Linked DNA regions of Homo sapiens: region 1 is linked to region 2. Evidence: promoter capture Hi-C in human tissues and cell types (Jung and others, 2019). All regions are on one chromosome and are shown on one strand. Each heading gives the region's core, a stretch centred on a gene start or on the middle of the fragment in contact. The rest is flanking DNA. Distances are from core to core; before and after follow the strand shown. Region 1 holds the start of RHBDL3 (rhomboid like 3). Region 2 holds the start of NF1 (neurofibromin 1).

What was found. The method cuts DNA at HindIII sites, captures the fragments that hold promoters and counts their contacts. A contact is called where the count stands out against the background at its distance.
Region 1: a contact is called between the fragment with the promoter of RHBDL3 here and the fragment with the promoter of NF1 in region 2, in 1 of the 25 tissues and cell types used here (pancreas).

The regions. Positions count from the first base shown.
Region 1 is chr17:32,264,276-32,269,691 of GRCh38, reverse strand. It overlaps RHBDL3 (rhomboid like 3), which reads right to left and starts at 3,860. Exons shown (of 9, transcript NM_138328.3): 1 at 3,392-3,860; 2 at 1,767-1,790. The coding sequence starts at 3,502. It overlaps LOC105371731 (a long non-coding RNA gene), which reads left to right and starts at 4,241. Exons shown (of 3, transcript XR_934665.2): 1 at 4,241-4,427; 2 at 4,796-4,946. The HindIII fragment of the contact is 17,639 bases long and covers 626-5,416 here.
Region 2 is chr17:31,091,525-31,097,073 of GRCh38, reverse strand. NF1 (neurofibromin 1) reads right to left here and starts at 2,097. Exons shown (of 58, transcript NM_001042492.3): 1 at 1,705-2,097. The coding sequence starts at 1,764. MIR4733HG (MIR4733 host gene) reads left to right here and starts at 1,584. Exons shown (of 4, transcript NR_186435.1): 1 at 1,584-1,847; 2 at 3,583-3,701. MIR4733 (microRNA 4733) reads left to right here and starts at 2,649; the gene lies at 2,649-2,724. It overlaps LOC124903974 (a long non-coding RNA gene), which reads right to left and starts at 5,439. Exons shown (of 2, transcript XR_007065704.1): 1 at 5,367-5,439; 2 at 3,947-4,198. RefSeq lists silencers at 1,693-1,742, 1,783-1,852, cis regulatory regions at 1,708-2,018, 2,245-2,484, an enhancer at 2,087-2,104 and a promoter at 2,092-2,517. The HindIII fragment of the contact is 9,958 bases long and covers 1-5,549 here.

The DNA.
Region 1 (5,416 bases), core at 2,611-5,110, 1.2 Mb before region 2:
CAGCTTGGTGGTAGTGGTGGCAGTGGCGCAGCGGGCTCCCTCCTGCCTTGGGGCATCAGGCCAGCAGCTGCTGTACTCTTAGGAGCCAGAGGGAGAGATGCTCTACCCGTCAGGACAGGAGCCAGTGCATGCTTTGAACTTCAAACCACAGCCAGACCTCGTGGTTAATGTGGATGATCACCCCAAATCCTCACCCCAGGCCTTTCGCGCTGCAATTCCGTGTCATCACGCCCACTCCGGCATCTGCAACCGGCTGGCTCCTCTAACTGAACTTGTCTCAAACCAAAGTTGTCATTTTTGCCAAACGTCTCTCCTCACTCCAACTTGTTTTTTGTTTTTGTTTTGAGACAGGGTCCCACTCTGTCACTCAGGTTGGAGTGCAGTAGCACGATCGTGGCTCACTGCAGCCTCAACTTCCTGGGCTCAGGCAATCCTCCTGCCTCAGTCTCTCATGTAGCTGGAACCACAGGAGTGTGCTACCATGCCTGGCTGATTTTTTAATTTTTTGTAGAGATGAGGTCTCACTTTGTTGGCGAGGCTGGTCTTGAACTACTGGGTTCAAGTGATCCTCCCGCCTTAGCCTCCCAAAGTGTTGGGATTACAAGCGTGAGTCACCACACCTGGCCCCACTCCAACTTCTTTCCCTCCTAGGTTCAGAATCTCAAAGTTAGATATGTGGTTCCCCTCACCTACGGTCTATTAAGATCTTCCAATTCTTCCATCACCATGTCCCTCTTCCCGTCCATCCTCACTGTCACCTTCTTGCCTCTGTTCAGTGCTGCAGCTCCTGCCTAGCTTCCCTCATCCCCGTAGCCCATTCACTCCTTATCCCCTAAGACACTGGAGCTTTCCCAAGCCTGGCTTGGATCACATAACAACCCTGCTAAAAAACTTTCTAAGGCTTCCCCTGCCTACAACGAAGTCCTGGTTCAAGCTAATTTTTCAGCTTTATCTCCTTCTCCTACCCAACACATTCCCTCTGGCCCACTCACACCAATTTCTTAAAGTTGCACAAACTTCATGGCACAATCATTCTCACCCCAGGACTATAGCACTCAACTATCCTCCAACATGGGGCAAAGAGGGAGAAGGAAGCACATAACAGCACCCACCACGAATGCTAAGAGGAGAACCATTTCCTTGCTGAAGGTCAAATGTCCATCTCCAGGTTCAAAAGCCAATACTTGGCACCCCCAACTCCATGCCCTACACCTGGACTCCAGGCATTGCGAAGAATCACACACAATTTCCCCTCTGTAACCTCCCAGCACTCCCTCATCCCTATGACAGAATTAAAGACATTGAATTAGACTTCAAAAGAGTCCATACTGTGAGTCAGCCCCCAAGGATGGCAGAGATTTGACTTCAGCGGTGGCCATGGACCCTCCATAGTGGAGGTAGAAACGGAGAGGGATTGTCAGCCCAAGCCCTTCCCCCACCTCTCCAGCCCCCTACTGCAATCCCCTGGCATATGGAGGATTTCCCAGGCATTCAATATATAACGTCCAATTTCTACATGGTGTAAACCCGGCTCTGGTGCAGCAGAGTAGGGAGGAGGCAGGAGGGAGATCCTCTCAGGGGAGCCCATCTCTTCCTCCTGATACCTGGAGAGCAGTGTCGTTCAGCCCTAGAGATGCACAAAGCCACACCCCCACCCCACGTCACCATCTCAGGAGCGCGGAGCTAGGGAAGCCCACGCAAGCAGGGAGACTGAGACCGATTTCAGGGAGGGCTGGAAGGAAATGGGGGGTTAACTGCTCACATACCTGATCAAACAGGACTTTCCAGTGCTGGCAGAGAGGGAGGCCATGCAGGAGAGGAAGAAGAGGAGAGAAAGAAAGACACACTTATCACCAAGGTCTCTGTAGTCCTCGGATGTTTCTGACATAGCCTCCCAGCGGCTGCCCAGGAGTCATGACCAGGCTCAGGGACTGGCCACAGGAGAGCAGGGGAAGTCTGGGAGGAGCTCCCCAATGAGTCCACACTGAGCAGAGGGAGGAAACTCACAGTAAGGGATGGGGTGGGGGCGGGGGCGGCAAGGTGGGTGTTGCTGGTTCTGGAACTGGCAGAACAAGTGATTCTCAACAATTACTAAATAAAGGCGTCCAAATATGTCCAAGCGCCTCTAATAATTTCTGCTGCCTAAAGCTTATGTCCACAGCTACTCCCAGGCCTGGGAGAGCATGGCCAGGTGCAATTCCATCAGACCCCGGCGCAATGAGTCTCACCTGCTGGGAGCTAGAGCCCCCCCCTCCCCCCCCAGGAGAACTCACCTCTGCATAAACACTAACATTTTGCCTGCAGTTTTTTGTTTGTTTGTTCGTTTTTTGTTTTTTTGCGGGGAAGGGGGGGTGGTGAATGCCGAATGCGGTGAAGCCCACCCATTCTCTTCCAAGGCTGAGTCTAAGTGGTGACTACATCAGATTCTGCCAGGGGTTTAGGGCCAGAAGGAAGTGATAGATTTAACCGCAGACGCCAAAGAGAGAAGATCGTAAACTACCCCCCAACCCCATTCAGACTTTCCCGCTTTCGTTGTGTGGGTTGGGGGCCTGGTTTCACTTCCATCTCCCCACCCTGAGGGAGGAGTGGGCAGGGCAGGGTGTCTGCCCGGTTTTTCACCCCTATGTGTAGGTTAGCCCCGGGAGGTTAACCCAAGAAACTCCAGTTCCCAGGGCTTCGCAGGGCCGGCCCGCAGGACCGGAGGGATGGAGACCCGAGCAGCAGACGGCGGGGAAGCCCTCGGGGCAGCCCCTCCCTCTCCTCGCCCAGGGGACCGTCCCCTGGCACCGCCACGGTCTTGGACTCCCGGGCCTCCTTCTAGGAGCAAAGCCGCTCCCAGCACTCTTTGCCTCCCTGCTCCGGCCGGGGTCAGAGGCGGGGGCCGGCTTGAATTTCAATCAGTGTCGCGGCAAGGCAGGTGCCGGGCGGGAGCTAATCCGGGAGCGGAGGAAGGGGTCGCCAGGCCGGCTTGCATGGCCAGGGACGGGGACTCTGCGGCGTCCGCTCCTTCCCCAGCTCCGGGAGCTCGCAGGTCGCGGGCGTGAGGGGAGGGGGAGTCACCGCCGTGACGCGGCCGCCTCTGCGGGAAAACGCCGTGTCCCGGGCACTGCACCAGCGGCGGGGAGGGGGCTCCGGCGGTGACAGGTCCGCGGCGCAGTGGCGGTGCTGTGTCCCGCAGGGAAGCCGCGGGAACCAGAGCGGGGGAAGCGGTGCGCGCGCGTTTCGGGGAGACCGGTCCCTCCGCCCCCTCCTGCCCGCGGGGACCCGGCCAATCCGGGGCGCTCCCGCGTCACCCTGAAACCTCCAAGTTGCCCGGCGTGGGGCGAGACAGGGGCGGCTTTTCCCCCCGGCGCCCCCTAGAAAGTTTGCCGGGCGGGGAGGGGGCACTCACGTCCTCCGGCGCCGCGGGCAGCCGCTCCTCGGCCTCGGGTTCCAGCTCCTCGATGCGCTCCGCCTCGGCGCAGGCGGCCACCGCGGGGCCCGGGCTGGGGTGCTCGCCCATGGCCGAGACGGGGTCCGGGGGCGGCGGCGGCTGCGGGGCTCGTCCCGGGGCGCCGGGCTAACTTTGCGCCGCGGCGGCCGCGCCGCTCCAGGGGCTCAGTGCGCGCCGCGCCGCCTCCGCGCCCGCTCCGCAGCCCGCGCCCGCCCCCATGGCCCCGGTCCCCGCGCCGCCGCCGCCTCCTCGCGACCCCGGGACGCCCGGCCCCTCCGCCGCCAAACTTCACTGCGCTAGCTGCCCCGCCGGCCTCCGCCTCCGCCCCGGCCCTCGCGCCCGGCTCCGAGGCGAGGGCGCCCTTGGGCCGGCCCCGGCCCCGCCGCTCCCCGCGCTCCCTTCCCGCTTCTCGCGGCCCCCGCTCTGCGCCCGAGTCTCCTCCTCCCCGCGGAGTCCTCGGGGGCGGCGCGCGGGCGGGGGCGGGGCTGCTCGCGGGGAACGCCGGCCCCCGCCCCGCACCCCACCCCGGGCGCCGCCACCCGGGCCCAGTCGGTCAGAGCGGCGCGGCCCGGGAGCGGGAGGGCTGCGGCGGGGCTGGCGAGGAAGTGGTGGCGCTGCCCGGGGCGGGGATGGGGACTGCGCCGTCCCCGGCCCGGTCACCACCGGCCTGCACTCCGGGCCCGGGCTTGGCTCTTCCATCGGCTTAACCATCACTTGGAGGTGGCAGATATGTGATGGAGACACTATGTTGGCGACGTCAGGGTTAACTAGGAGTGAATTGGGGGCGCGATGTTGTAAGGACGGGATTCCTGCCTCCCGCCCCATTATCCTTACGCCCTATTCACTGCGGTCTCAGATTCTGGGAGGTCTCGGGAGGCCCAGAAATGGGAGAAGTCAGATTGCGGGGTCGTGGGCCCCAAAGCCTAAATCTTGCCCTTCCTACACCCAGAGCTAAGTGACCATGCCCAGGCTTCATTTGACCACATGGACAAAGGTAAGCCCAGGGAAATGCCCCATCTGGGGAGAGGGACGGTAAAGAAACTAAAGCAATCAGAAAGGAAGTTAGCCAAAACGGAGTAGGGGATCTTTTAAAGAAAACAATCGATGCTGTTTCCCTGCAGGAAAGCGCCCCCAAGAGAGACCATCTCCCGAAGCAGAGGCTCTGGCTGTAAATGGTGCTAGTGGCCGGCCTGGCAGGGGCCAGCTCTCCCCAGAGGCTCAGGAGCTTCTCCAGGAGGCATCTCGCAGTCAGTCCCCAGCCCACACCAAGGCTGTGCCCTTCCACTCCTCTTGCTTTCCTCTTCCCACCACCCACTCACTCACTAGTCTTTGCCCTCTTCCTTCCTCTGGGAAACGGAACAGGCTCCTTTCCATTAGTGAGAGCTGCAACTAATGCAGTCATCTTCAGAAAGCAAAGACATAACCCCGTGCCCAGGATCCGAACTGCGACCATCACCCAGCAATGACTGCTCCCCTTAAACACCGAGAAGGGAATTCACTTGATTCTAATTAGGTGAGTTTGCTACAGACACCAATTTTCATCTCTGTTTCAGAAAGTGTGATCATTTCAACTATTTTTGTTTCTCACCACCCTCCTCCCCATCCCTACTCTACTAACAAGTCAAGATCCTGCCAAGATTTCCTTGTAAATAAAACTGTCTGCATGGGGTGTGATTTTGAAAACAGCCTTCAGGGGACAGAAGAGAGGCTGATTCCTTTGTGAAGAGGAGCCCAGAAGGACAAATGACCGCTGGGGCCCTGGGGTCTGTGTCGCTGCCTCCCGCATCCCAGGCTGTCATTTGCATGACCGGTATGGGTGTTGGCTCTGTTATACTTAGATCTCTGGGACTAGAGAAGTGGGCCAGGAAGTCTGGTTCCAGGGGAACTGGAAGGAGAAGGGCACAGAAAAGGGTTGGCCACTCTGCTGGGATGCCCAGCCACCCTGGACAGTGTTCTGATACCAGCTACCCAGGGAGCTGCCTC
Region 2 (5,549 bases), core at 848-3,347:
AATTTTTAATTTTTAAAATTTAAGGAGAATTGCGGCGTGGATCCTTCAATTTCCTACATCCAGATTCTGCTGTCCACAAGGTTCAGCTTTGGAAGTCTTCTATGTGCCTTTTAAATCCTTTCTTAAAATTACAGAGTCTTTTCTACCAAGTTTTAAATCTAACGCTCTATCAATAATGTAATCTTTTATATGCAGTAACATTATACTTCAGATGGATTAGTAGTTTAGTTTAGATGCCTTTGGGTCTGGAAGCATACGAATGGATAAAACAATTCCTTCAAGTCTCTGACAGCTTCATAACTCTATTTTATCTACATAGCTTCTTCTCAACTTCCTCTGTCTATTCCAAGATATTTTCCAGGTAGGTCTGAAACGCTGAGTCCCGTAAAGAAATGTTTATGCATCAAATAACAGAAGAGCTCTTCCCCCACCCCTTCAGCTCCCATAATGTTTTACCATTATATCCAGTAAACAAAATAGGTTGACTCAATCTTAAACAATTCCCCCATCACAGGAAGCCCACTGCACCCACAGCTGCAGAAAGCATCCCTTAAACCATCCCCAACTACCTACAGCAACACAAAGTTAAACCAATTTCCACTGACAAAAGGCTATGTGTGCATTTATTCTAATCAGCCCCAGGATTTATTGTGTGAAACTCAGGCGATAAAAAGTCACCTCCTCAAGCTACAAAACTTTTTTTTCATCCCAAATATTCTCAATGAAAGTTCTCTTGTCAACCAGGAGAGAGTCAAAAACAACCACAAACACTAGCAGAATGATCCGCTCCAGGACCACATCCCAGCTGGCTTTGCTCTGTTGTCGGTGGCTCTGAAGCAGTTTCTCACTTTCCTTTCACCCTTCTCCCCTTTACTCCCCAACATTCTCACTCGAGAATGCATCACATCCTCAGACCGCTGGCAAAAAAAAAAGGGGGGGGGGAAGAGACTGCAATTATCAAGGAAGGGGAAGATATTTCAGAACCACGGTTTCCACTGCAAACGGCAATAAAAAAAAAAGGCAGTCTGTGTCATCAGGATATGGGGGACGACGTTGTAGGGCATCACAAAGATGTGCAGTGAGTGTGCACTTGAAGCTCTCGGGGCAGGATGAGACGATGGAGCAGAAAGTAAGAAAACCTGTGCCTTCCTTGCTTTCTTCTGCTCTTCCCCCTCCAGGAGAGGAAGCTGAAGAAACTGGGGGAGGGGCGGAATGTTATCGTTCTCCTATTGAGGGTATATAAGACAGGCCTTAGGGTTCGCTCGTCCCCAGTTAGGAGGGTCACGGAGGGAAGAGGAAGAGAGAACCCCTAAACGTTACCCACCTCTGCTCAAAAACAAAAGTAAGGGGGTAATTATTAAATCCAGATGGCGCGCCCCTAAAGGCGCCCCCAGGTCACTCATCCCCATTTCCAAGCGGAAGGGCTGGGATAAAGGGGATGGAGGGTCGGAGGCTGGTCAGGGACAAGGCCCCACCCCCCGACTTAGGAGGGAAAGGGTGCCCAAGCTCCCAGCTGTCCCCTCCTACCCCTCACCTCCCGCCTTGGCCACCCCCACTTATCCCCCCTTCCCTTCTCTTCCCTTCCCTTCCTTTCCTCCAGAGCCTGAGGCAGCCGCGGGGGAGGCGGCCGCTCCTACCTCCCCTCACCTACTCTGTCCCCACCCCCACTCCGCTCCCACCTCCCGCCCGCCACGGGCCGGTTACCTGCTCGTCGAAGCGGCTGACCACGGCCTGGACCCATTCCACCGGCCTGTGCGCGGCCATGTCCTCCCCGCGGCCGGGGGGCGGCGGAGGGAAGGGTGGGCCGGCGCCCTGGGCCGGGAAGAGGGCGGGGAGCGGAGGCTGAGGTGAGGGAAGAGGCAAGGAGAGGGTCTGTGGAGTGCAGGCTCCCAGTGTTCCCACGGGGGTGGGGATGGGGGGTCAGCGCCGAGCGGGAGGGGGAGAGGGAAAGGGGGCGTTGGCAAGGAGGCTGGGGGGAGGGGGATAGGGGAAGGGGACCCGGGGAGGGGAGGGGGCCTCTTGGTCGCTCTCCCCACTAGCGCCGTCTCCCCACAGCCATCACAGTCCGAGACGCCGCCATGACACCCCACCGGAAGTGGGATCCTTTCCACGGCCCGGGGAGAGGGAGCGCGAGCGAGCTAGAGATTGAGAGCGCGGCTGGGAAAGGGGAGGGGGAAGCGAGAGGGAAGGCGGCCTGCCGCGCATGCGCCCGCGCCGGCCGGTTTCATTAATGAAAAAGCGAGTCCTCCTGGAGGTGACGTCATCTAACTCCTCTGGGCCGTCTGGCGAGCGTCCCTCACCGCCGTGGGGCTCACCTAGACTGGCGCTGGGCTCAGCTGGCGAGTGCCAGAGCTGACCCGGGAGCATCCACTCCCATCCCCACCGCCCCCTACAGCTGTCCCCTCCCCCGCCGGCCTCCGGGTTTGGATTGCTCCCGGAGTTGGAAGTTAGGGCGCCCTGGGGCTAGCCTTTCTCCCAGCGCGCGGATCTCTGCCGCTAATCTCCTGGGGAGGCTGTGCTCTCAGCTTAAGCTCTCAGAAAAAATAAGGTACACGACCTCCGATTTTCAGGTTCTTCGTAGCTTGGTAGACTGCTGAGAAACAAAAAAGGAAGGCCAAAGAGAGATTCCGTGATTTTTTTTTTTTAGAGGTCGCTTAAATCCCAATGCTAGACCCGGTGGCAATCAAGGTCTAGCCACCAGGTCTAGCATTGGGATTTAAGCCCAGCTTTCCTCTGCAAAACTCATAGCCATCCAAGTTAATATAACTATTGCACAGTTGATGAGAGATTCAAGTTTCACCACCCTCAAAACACCTTTAAGGCCTTGCATTCATTATTAATTCAATATATTCATCGTCTTATTTAAATCCTTGAACAAACCTTTTCAATACATATCATTAACTTCATGAACTGATGAATACGTCACGTCCCCACCCCCGTGGGAACGCTGGGAGCCTGCACTCCTCCCTCAGACCTTTGATTTGCCCAAGGTCTGAGTTGACAGGTGGCAAAGTCAGGATGTAAACCAACGTGGTTTAACTCCTAGAACAATAGAGGTAGACTATGGGTCTCCTAAAACAAAGTCCTTCCCTATACCTCCAATACCAGAGTTGAAAGGATTTCATGTGTAATTGGGTTGTGCCAGTTTTCCAGGAAGAGGATTACATCCAAAACAACGGATAATCTATGTCTGACATTGGACTTTGGAATGACTAATTTTTTTTTTTTTTTTTTAAGACAGAGTCTCACCCTGTCACCCAGGCTGGAGTGCAGAGGCGCGATCTCGGCTCACTGCAACCTCCGCCTCCCGGTTGAAGTGATTCTTCTGCCTCAGCCTCCCGAGTAGCTGGGACTACAGGCATGCGCCACCACAGCCGGCTAATTTTTGTATTTTTAGTAGAGACGGTGTTTCACCATATTGGCCAGGCTGGTCTTGAACTCCTGACCTCATGATCCGCCCACCTCAGCCTCCCAAAGTACTGGGATTACAGGTGTGAGCCACCGCACCTGGCCTGGAATGAGTAATTTTAAAATTTGTCTTCCTCGATACATTTTACCTAGGCAAATGTTTTTGTTTTTCAGAGACAAGGTCTGACTCTGTGCAGTGGAGTGCAGTGGCTCAATCATAGCTCACTCCAGCCTCAGACTCCTGGGCCGAAGTGATCCTCCCACCTCAAGCTCCTGAATAGCTGGGACTACAGGTGAGTGTCACCCTGCTTTGGCTAATTTTTTTTTTTTTTTTTTTTTTGGTAGAGACACAGTCTTGCTATGTTGCCCAGGCTGGTCTGGAACTCCTGGCCTCAAGTGATCCCCCTGCCTTGGCCTCCCAAAGTGCTGGGATGACAGGGGTGAGCTACCACACAGGCCCCTAGGCCAATGTTAAAATGAATTTACACATTCCAAGCACGCGCTAATCAGCCAGTTAAGCCACACAGACACTGGGTGATAAGGGAGAACAAAACTAGAATTTTAATTTTCCTACAGAAAAGCCACAAAGCCAGTAGCCCACATACAGAGAGATATATCCTTGAGAAAAGTTTCCAATCTCTAGGTTGGTGGTTGTCCAAAATACATATTAAATTAATGTTTTATTCCACTAGAACAGACAGACAGTTTGGACATGTCTTTTGTCCCTTCTTCTTTAAGGATGCAATGCAGATACTAATTTCTTTTAGATGATGTCAGAATGATGACTATGCTGGAAAGAAATGGATGAATATTAAATGAATGTCTATCTATGTTTCTCCCAAGTAGGACCCCTGAAAAAGCACTCACTCATACCCCCAAGATAGTATTCCAGTGCCCCCTACTGCACTGCTAAACTTCAGACCTATGACCTTCCTCTCCTTTTCTCATACTTCCTCTGAAAGTCCCTAACTACTTCCTTGTTGCCATGGCTTTTTGCCTGTCTATCTCCCTGATCTTCTTCCCTACACTGGATGCAACTGCCCAAACCCTCAGCTCCCTTGCCTTCCCTGGCATTCCGTTGCTGAAGTTCCTCTGTGCCTTTCTCTCCTCTTCTTCTCTAGTTTAGTCTACCATTGCCCACTCTTCTTTAGCTCTGTGGTAAGACACCCAAACTTCAGGCCCTGGCCCTCTGCTCTTCTTCCTTTACTCAAGCTCCTGCCAGCATGTCATTAATTCATCCTAATTTGTACTCCCTGTTCTGTTGCCTCCCCTCAGTGCCAAACCTCTCATTATAGTCAGAGGCCTAGACTTCACCCCAACTTCCTCTCCAATTAAATTCATTCAGTTCTGCTGAACCAGTATTAAGTGTCCAAATGGGCCGGTCGTGGTGGCTCACACCTATAATGCCAGCACTTTTAGAGGCCGAGGTGGGAGGATTGCTTGAGCCTAGAAGTTCAGACCAGCCTGGGCAACATAGTGAGATCCCAGCTTCTACCAAAAAAAATTATTTAAATTAGTTAGGCATAGTGGTGTGCATCTGTGGTCCCAGCAACTTGGGAGGCTGAGGTGGGAGGATCACTTGAGCTAGAGAGGTCAAGGCTGCAGTGAGCTGTGATCTCGCCACTGCACTCCAGCCTAGGCAACAGAGCAAGACCCTGTCTCTAAAAAATAAATAAAAATAAAAGTACCCAAATGCCTGTTATGTATTATGTACTTTGTTAGACCATACATAGTACATATGGCAGGAATGCTAAACAAAAGTGCCAAAGAAGACTGGACGCTGTGGCTCATGCCTGTAATCCCAGCACTTTGGGAGGCCGAGGCAGGCAGATCACCTGAGGTCAGGAGTTTGAGACCAGCCTGGCCAATGTGGTGAAACTCCATCTCTACTAAAAAAAAAAAAAAAAAAAAAAAAAAGCCGGGCATGGTGGCACATGGCTGTAATCCCAACTACTTACTAGGGTGACTGAGGCAGGAGAATTGCTTGAACCCAGGAGGCTGAGGTTTCAGTGAGCCTAGATTGTGCTGCTGCAATCCAGCCTGGGCGACAGAGTGACTCCATCTCAAAAAAAAAATGCCAAAGAAGGTAATGCATAGAGACTGTGGTGAATTAAGAAGCATATACCCACCTCCATTTATCC